Regions from separate parts of the Homo sapiens genome. Here region 1 is linked to region 2. Evidence: promoter capture Hi-C in human tissues and cell types (Jung and others, 2019). All regions are on one chromosome and are shown on one strand. Each heading gives the region's core, a stretch centred on a gene start or on the middle of the fragment in contact. The rest is flanking DNA. Distances are from core to core; before and after follow the strand shown.

What was found. Contacts are between HindIII fragments. The study calls those that stand out against the background at their distance.
Region 1: a fragment that was not itself captured here is called in contact with the fragment with the promoter of CFD in region 2 in 1 of the 25 tissues and cell types used here (spleen).

The regions. Positions count from the first base shown.
Region 1 is chr19:2,274,812-2,280,336 of GRCh38, reverse strand. PEAK3 (PEAK family member 3) reads left to right here. Exons shown (of 4, transcript NM_198532.3): 3 at 1,224-1,753; 4 at 3,848-5,525. The coding sequence ends at 4,657. Among named protein-coding and RNA genes, the nearest start is that of PEAK3, 4.6 kb to the left of the region's middle. RefSeq lists an enhancer at 4,352-5,286. The HindIII fragment of the contact is 7,382 bases long and covers 1-5,525 here.
Region 2 is chr19:858,414-860,913 of GRCh38, reverse strand. CFD (complement factor D) reads right to left here and starts at 1,250. Exons shown (of 5, transcript NM_001928.4): 1 at 1,170-1,250; 2 at 141-297; 3 at 1-53. The coding sequence starts at 1,224. The HindIII fragment of the contact is 12,629 bases long and covers 1-2,500 here.

The sequences.
Region 1 (5,525 bases), core at 823-3,322, 1.4 Mb before region 2:
TTAATCCCAGCACTTTGGGAGGCCAAGGAGGAGGATCACTTGAGGCCAGGAGTTCAAGACCAGCCTGGCCAACATGGCAAAACCTGTCTCTGCTAAAAATACAAAAATTAGCCAGACATGGTGGTGCATGCCTGTAATTCCAGCTACTCGGGAGGCTGAGGCAGGAGAATCGCTTGAACCTGTGAGGCAGAGGGTGCAGTGAGCCAAGACTGAGCCACCGCACTCCAGCCTGGGCGACAGAGGGAGACTCCATCTCAAAAAAAAAAAAAAAAAAAAAAAAAAAGGCCAGGTGCAATGGTTCAAGCCTGTAATCCCAGCACTTTGGGAGGCCGAGTCAGGCAGATCACCTGAGGTCAGGAGTTTGAAACCAGCCTGGCTAACATGGTGAAACCCCATCTCTACTAAAAATACAAAAATTAGCTGGGCATAGTGGCGGGCGGGCACCTGTAGTCCCAGCTACTTGGGAGGCTGAGGTAGGAGAATCGCTTGAACCTAGGAGGCGGAGGTTGCAGTGAGCCGAGATCGTGCCACTGCACTCCAGGCTGGGCGACAGAGCAAGACTTCAAAAAAGAAAAAAAGCAAGACAGACGCTTGTGCAAAGCCACGGAGGTAAGTGGGAGTCGCTGAGTGCTGGGTGGCATCACTCTCTGAAACTGATCCATCCTCCTATAAGCCTCAGTTTCCCCTTCTGTAAGCTCTGCCGCCCAGGCTGGAGTGCAGTGGCACAATCTCGGTTCACTGCAAGCTCCACTTCTCAAGTTCACACAATTTTCCTGCCTCAGCCTCCCGAGTAGCTGGGACCACAGGCGCCCACCACCAAGCCCGGCTAATTTTTTGTATTTTTAGTAAAGACGGGGTTTCACCGTGTTAGCCAGGATGGTCTCGATCTCCTGACCTCGTGATCCACCCATCTCGGCCTCCCAAAGTGCTGGAATTACAGGCATGAGCCATTGTGCATGGCCGCGTCCGGCAAATTTTTAAAAAATTTTTGCAGAGACAGGGTCTCACTATGTTGCCCAGGCTGGTCTCAAACCCTAGGTTCCAGTGATCCTCCTGCCTCGGCTTCCACCTTCCTAAGTGCTGGGATTACAAGCATGAGCCACCGGCGCCCAGCCTCATTACTTCCATGTTAGAGATGGGGAAACCGAGGCTGAGAGGTGGAGTCACGTGTCCCGTTCCCACTCCGCCTGTCCTCAACCCTCCCCCACTGTCTCTCCCTGCAGGTCAGATCCGTGCCCACCTGCTGCCCTCCAAGGCCTGCCGCCTCCGGACCCCTGGGTCCCTCTCCACCAACCCAGAGCCCCTGCCCCCACCCCTGCCCAAGAAGATCCTAACCCGGACCCAGTCACTGCCCACCCGCAGGACCCTCCATCCCAGCTCCATCCAAGTACAGCCGCCTCGGAGACCCTTTCTGGGGTCCCACAGTGTGGACAAGAGCCAGGCTGCAGTGGGACCAGCCTGTCTCCCTGCAGAGCTGACCTTTGGCCCGGCTGACGCCCCACTGGGCCTCTCCCTCCGCGATCTGCACAGCCCGGAGGCTGTGCACACTGCACTGGCTGCGCGGCAGCTGCAGGGCCTCCGTACCATCTATGCCCGGCTCCGTGCCCGGCTCATGGGGGGCCACCCCGGGCCCTGCCACCCCGGCCACAGCTTCCGCCTCCTAGACAGCTCACCCTGCGCAGAGAGCGGGGACGCCCTGTATTACCGCGTGGTGCGCGCGCACGAGGACGCCTGGCACATCCTGGTCGCCAAGGTGAGCCCCACAGCCCCACCCTCTCTGAGGTGTCCCCAGTGCCCCATCTTAGACATAACCCAGGGCTTGTTTCATTTGGCCTTTCTGTGAGTCAGTTCTCACACTGCTGTAAAGAAATACTGGAGCCGGGCGCGGTGGCTCACGCCTGTCATCCCAGCACTTTGGGAGGCCAAGGCGGGCGGATCAGCTGAGGTCAGGAGTTCAAGACCAGCCTGGCCAACATGGTGAAACCCAGCCTCTACTAAAAATACAAAAATTAGGTGTGGTGGCGGGCGCCTGTAAACCCAGCTACTTGGGAGACTGAGGCAGGAGAATTGCTTGAACCCGGGAGGCAGAGGTTGCAGTAAGCCAAGATTGGGCCATTGCACTCCAGCCTGGGCAACAGAGTGAGACTCCGTCTCAAAAAAAAAAAAAAGAAAAAGGCCGGGCACAGTGGCTCACACCTGTAATCCCAGCACTTTGGGAGGCCGAGGCGGGCAGATCACGAGGTCAGGAGATACAGACCATCCTGGCTAACACGGTGAAACCCTGTTTCTACTAAAAAGACAAAAAATTAGCCGGGCGTGGTGGTGGGCACCTGTAGTCCCAGCTATTTGGGAGGCTGAAGCAGGAGAATGGCATGAACCCAGGGGGCAGAGCTTGCGGTGAGCCGAGAACGCACCACTGCGCTCCAGCCTGGGCGACAGAGCGAGACTCCGTCTAAAAAAAAAAAAAAAGGCTGGGCAGCACAGTGGCTGACGCCTGTAATCTCAGCACTTTGGAAGGCCAAGGCGGGCAGATCATGAGGTCAGGAGTTCGAGACCAGCCTGGCCAACATAGTGAAACCCCCATCTCTACTAAAAATACAAAAATTAGCCGGGCGCGGTGGTGCGCACCTGAAGTCCCAGCTACTTGGAGGCTAAGGCAGGAGAATCACTTGAACCTGGGAGGCGGAGGTTGCAGTGAGCTGAGATTCGAAAATTGGGCTATTGCACTCCAGCCTGGGCGACAGAGTGAGACTCTGTCTCAAAAAAGAAAAACAAAAGAGAAGAAAAAAGAAAAGAAAAGAAAAAGGAATACTGGAGACTGGGTAATTTATAGAGAAAAGGGCCTTAATTGGCTCATGGTTCTGGTGGCTTCTGCTTCTGGGGAGGCCTCAGGAAGCTTCCAATCATAGTGGAAGGCGAGGCGGGAGCAGGCATCTCACACGGTGGGAGCAGGAGGAAGGGAGGGAGGAGGTGCTACTCACCTTTACACAGCCAGATCTCACGAGAACTCACTCGTTATCCCAACGACAGTGCCAAGGGAGATGGTGCTGAGCCATTCATGATAAACCACCCCCAAGATCCAAGTCGCCTCCCACCAGACCCCACCTCCAACACTGGGGAATGAGATTTGGTGGGGACACAGATCCAGACCATATTAGACTTGTTTATTTTGCAACTAACACGTGAATCAACGCAGTTAACCCAGGAAACCATGTTTCTAAAGTATGGGGCCATGGGTATGGCCTTGGAGCTCTTGTCAAAACCCCTCCCACACCTCTCTGGCCGGGGATCTGCTTTTGTGTTTTTTGTTTTGTTTTTTGTTTTTGAGACAGAGTCTCACTCTGTTGCCCAGGCTGGAGTGCAGTGGCGCGTTCTCGGCTCACTGCAACCTCCACCTCCCGGGCTCAAGCGATTCTCTCACCTCAGCCTCCGAAGTAGCTGGGATGACAGGCGCGCCACCACGCCCAGCTAGTTTTGCATTTTTTAGTAGAGACGAGCGTTCCCTGCGTTGGCCAGGCTGGTCTCGAACTCCTGACCTCAGCGATCCCCCTGCCTCCCAAAGTGCTGGGAAGGCGTGAGCCACCGCGCCCGGCCCAGGAATCTGCTTTCGAACTCATTGCCCAGGAACATCTTCTTCCCTGGCTTAACTTTCCTGAAAGTCCTTACTGGTGACTAACTTCCAAATTAACACTGACCTCCTGCTGCTGGAGGGATGCAGGCAGCCCCTAGCCGTAGTGGGGGCAGTTTGGGGGTGTGCGTGGGAGGCTTCGGGGCAGGTAGCACTGGGGCAGGCGGTGCTTGTGGGGGGCCCAGTGATCCAGGCCCCGACACCCCCTCTGCCTTGCAGGTGCCCAAGCCCGGGGCGGACGTGCCCCACCCGTGGGGCCTGGAGCTGCAGGCCTCCCTGTCTCCACACTTCAATCTGCAGGGGCTGTGTGGCCTGGTGCCTGAAGGCACACTGCCCGGGGCGCCCTGGAGAGGCGCAGTGGCGCTGGCAGCCGAGGTTCCAGAGCGCACGGTGGCGCAGTGGCTGGCGGAGGCCTGCACGCAGCCGCCGGAGGAGTTCGTGTGGGCTGTGGCCCTGCTGCTGCTGCAGCTGAGCGCGGCCCTGAAGTTCCTGGAGGCGTGGGGCGCGGCCCTAGTCGAGTTGCGGCCGGAGAACTTGCTGCTGGTGGCACCTCGGGGCTGTGCGACGACGGGGCCCCCACGCCTGCTCCTCACTGACTTTGGCCGCGTCTGTCTGCAGCCCCCTGGACCCCCGGGATCCCCGGGCCCCCACGCGCCGCAGCTGGGCAGCCTCCTCCGAGCGCTGCTCAGCCTTGCTGCGCCCTCGACCACGCCTTTGGCCGCGGGCCTGGAGCTCCTGGCAGCACAGCTGACCCGCTTGCGGCCCTCGGCGTCCCGGACGCGGGGCGCGCTGCAGGCGCTGCTCTGGGGGCCCGGGCCTGAGCTGCGCGGCCGCGGAGCACCGCTTGGTCCCTGGCTCCGAGCGCTCGGGCCCTGGCTGCGGGTGCGCCGCGGGCTGCTGGTCCTGCGCCTAGCAGAGCGGGCCGCAGGTGGGGAAGCTCCCAGCCTCGAGGACTGGCTGTGTTGCGAATACCTGGCCGAGGCCACCGAGTCCTCGATGGGCCAGGCCCTGGCGCTGCTGTGGGACTGACCCCAACCCAGGGCGAACACACCTGGTCCAGGCCTGCCCAGGAGGCAGGGCTGGGGCTGAGGTCAGCGTCTCCATGATAGCCAAGACACCCTCTTCCTGCAGAGTCCAGGAGCGCAGCAGAGAGAGCAATGCCCCACTCCAGAGCCTCCCCTCCCGTGCTGGGGATGTGGGTCAAGGGCTTCCCAGGAATGCAGCTGCCCCTCCAGGGCTGGGGGCTGGCCAGCGCCTCCTGTGTTGGGCAGCAGCTCTCTGAAGCCAGGGCCCCCACGCCACTTCCAGGTGTGGACAACCCCGCTGATCAATGTCTCTCTGTGTTCTGCCTTCCCCAGCAGCCAGGGCGCTCTTCCGCGTGGGTTCTGTCATTGTCTCCATGAGAGGCCAATGCCGGGACCAGAGGCATTCCTGGCTCTGGAGCACCCCCTTGTGCTGAAGATGGCCAGTGATTTTGGGCATGTGAATGCCCCTGTCCCTGGTGGAGAATTGCTTGGTGGTGTCACGGGAAGGGAAGGCTCCCTGGGACCTTAGACACCCAGCTCATCTCAGCGGGGTCTGGACTCACCTTCCCTAAAACAGTCCCCGCGGTTCCCTGCCACCTCCCCTCAATCCCTCTGCGCCCACCCTGCCTCCCTCCCTGTTCCTCCGTGACACACCAACTTCTTTCGCGCCCCCAAGCATTTGTGTAGGCTGTTCCCTCTGCCATACTGTTCCAGTTCCACTTTCTTTTTCTTTTTTTTTTTTTTTTTTTTTTGAGACGATCTCGGCTTACTGCAAGCTCCGCCTCCCGGGTTCACGCCATTCTCCTGCCTCAGCCTCCCGAGTAGCTGGGACTACAGGCGCCCGCCACCACGCCCGGCTAATTTTTTGTATT
Region 2 (2,500 bases), core at 1-2,500:
CCGGCTGCGACAGGGAGTGCGCGCCCAGGAGAACCTGCACCTTCCCGTCGGCCCTGGGGACCGGACGGAGTCCGCGGTCGGTGCCAGCCGACTCCCCCCACCGCACCCGGGCTCTTCCCCCGCGCGGCGCGGGCACTCACGCGTCCTCCAGGCAGTGCGCCGCGCTCAGCACCCACTGCTCCGCCACCAGGACGCCGCCGCACAGGTGCGCGCCGTTCAGCTGCACCGACGCCATGTAGGGCCGCGCGTGCGCCTCGGCCTCTCTGCCGCCCAGGATCCGACCACGGGGCGGCGCCGCTGTGGGTGGGCGGGCGCGTGAGGGCCGCGGGGTGGACTCCTCCCCCGGGCGAGGCTGCCTGACGGGATCCCAGCTCTCACCCCCCAGGCCGCTCCCCGCAAGAATCCCATCTCTGGGCGCGGTGGCTCACGCCTGTAATCCCAGCACTTTGTGAAGCCGCGCGGGGGCGGGGGGGGAGGGGGGGGTGCAGATCATGAGGTCAGGAGTTCAAGACCAGCCTGGCCAATATGGTGAAACCCCGTCTCTACTTTAAAAAAAAATACAAAATTTAGTCGGCGTGGCCTATAATCTCAGCTATTCGGAAGGCTGAGGCAGGAGAATCGCTTGAACCCGGGAGTCGGAGTTTGCAGTGAGCCGAGATCGCACCACTGCACTCCAGCCTGGACGACAGAGCGAGACTCCCTATCAAAAAAAAAAAGAAAGAAAAAAAAGAATCCCGTTTCCGTCTTGGGGCCCCTCAGCGTTGCAAACTCAGATACCCTCGGGCGGGAATGCCCCAGAGTACAGAACCCACAGTGGGCTGGGGACCGGGGGCAGATCCCAGCGCCCTACCCTGGGCGCAGTGCCTTCCAGTTGGACATAAGAGAAATGGGGCTGACCCAGCCAGTGCCTGGGCCAGCCCAGTCAGCCACGCAGATGAAGTTTTCCACGCAGACGTTCAGACTCTGTCTGCAAGAAAAGCTGACTCCAGAAAGTTCCGATTTCCAATCTGAATTTTCTAGAATTTTTCAGCGTTCAGAGCCTTCCATTAGTGAGGAGAGACACCCCCTTCCTGCCCACCTGGAGGGGCTGGAGGACCGTCCGTGTGACGGAAGGGAGCACCACGCCCCTACACAGCCCTGTCCCTCACCCCAGGCCCAGGCCTCCTCACCGCAGGCGGCCGCTCCTAGGAGGACCAGAACTGCCAGGCGCTCCCAGCTGTGCATGGTGAAGCCGCTGTGGCTGAGACACTGACCCAGGCAGGGCCCTGGGGGTGCTTTTATGAGGGTGGAGGGGGCGGGCCGCTCCCCGGGTGGGCAGCGGCCCAGCTGGGGAAAGGGGAACTCGCCCGCCCAGCCTCCGCCCTCCCCGGGACTGGGTTACCTCCTGCCAGACTCACACCAGAGTCGACAAGTCGCTGGGAGACCCTCGGGCCTCTGTGAGCCTGACAGCCTGCTGGCCCTGGTGGGGGGCAGTCCCTCAGATGGGCAGGAGGCAGAGAGGGGGGCTGCACCCACCCCGGCCCCAACTTCACCACACCCAGAGTCCCCCAGGGTGTTTCACAATCCTAGCTGGAGGCCACAGCGTGTAAACAACCCACTTTCTTGTCCTGCTACCCTCCCTTCTTTTCCTCCTCTATATTAGAGAGAAGGTCTGTTGGGGGTAGGAAGGTCACTTGACACCTTTGTCTCTGTCCCTGTGGCCTCTGGGGCTTGACACCCTGACGAATAGAAAGTTGGAAAGGCCAAGGCAGAGGCAGCTGGGAAGACTGGCTACAAGGGACAGGAAAACCCAGACAAACTGGGTGGAGCCTGAATCATGAAAGTTATATGGAAAGTTCAGGGATGTCCGCCTTCAGGTGTGGCTTGATCCAGGTGCCTGAACAATGTCCAGTGTCTGCTTCTGGCTTCTCCTTTCTTCTCTGATGGCTTCTTTCCTCACCAGCCTCCCCTGGTGTGTTTCCAGGGACCCCACACTCAACCCAGTGGCTCAGTGGGCCCCTCCTAAAATTCTTCCTCACTCCAGCCAAGTCTCAAGGGTGCCTTGGGTTGGTGGAGCCTGGATCACACGCCCCCTCCCAAACTGTTCACTGAGGGCAGGTTCTGATGAACAGAGTCAGGGCTGGCCGGGCACAGTGGCTCCCACCTACCATCCCGGCACATTGAGAGACCCAGATAGGAGCATCTCTTGAGCCCAGGAATTCAAGGCCAGCTTGGGGAAGACGGCGAGACCCCATCTCTACAAAAAAATTAAAATAAAATACTTCTCAGAATCTGGGCCATAGGGCCTTTTGTGAGGTGGGGATTTGTGTGTGTTGTTTTTGTTTTATTACAGACAGGGTCTTGCTCTTTCATCCAGGCTCGAGTGCAGCGGTGCAATCATAGCTCACTGCAGCCTCCTCGACCTCCGGGGCTCAAGTGATCCTCCCACCTCAGCCTCCAGAAGTGCTGGGACTGCAGGCCTGCTCATGGTGTAGCTCCATTTTTCACATCTGCCCCACAG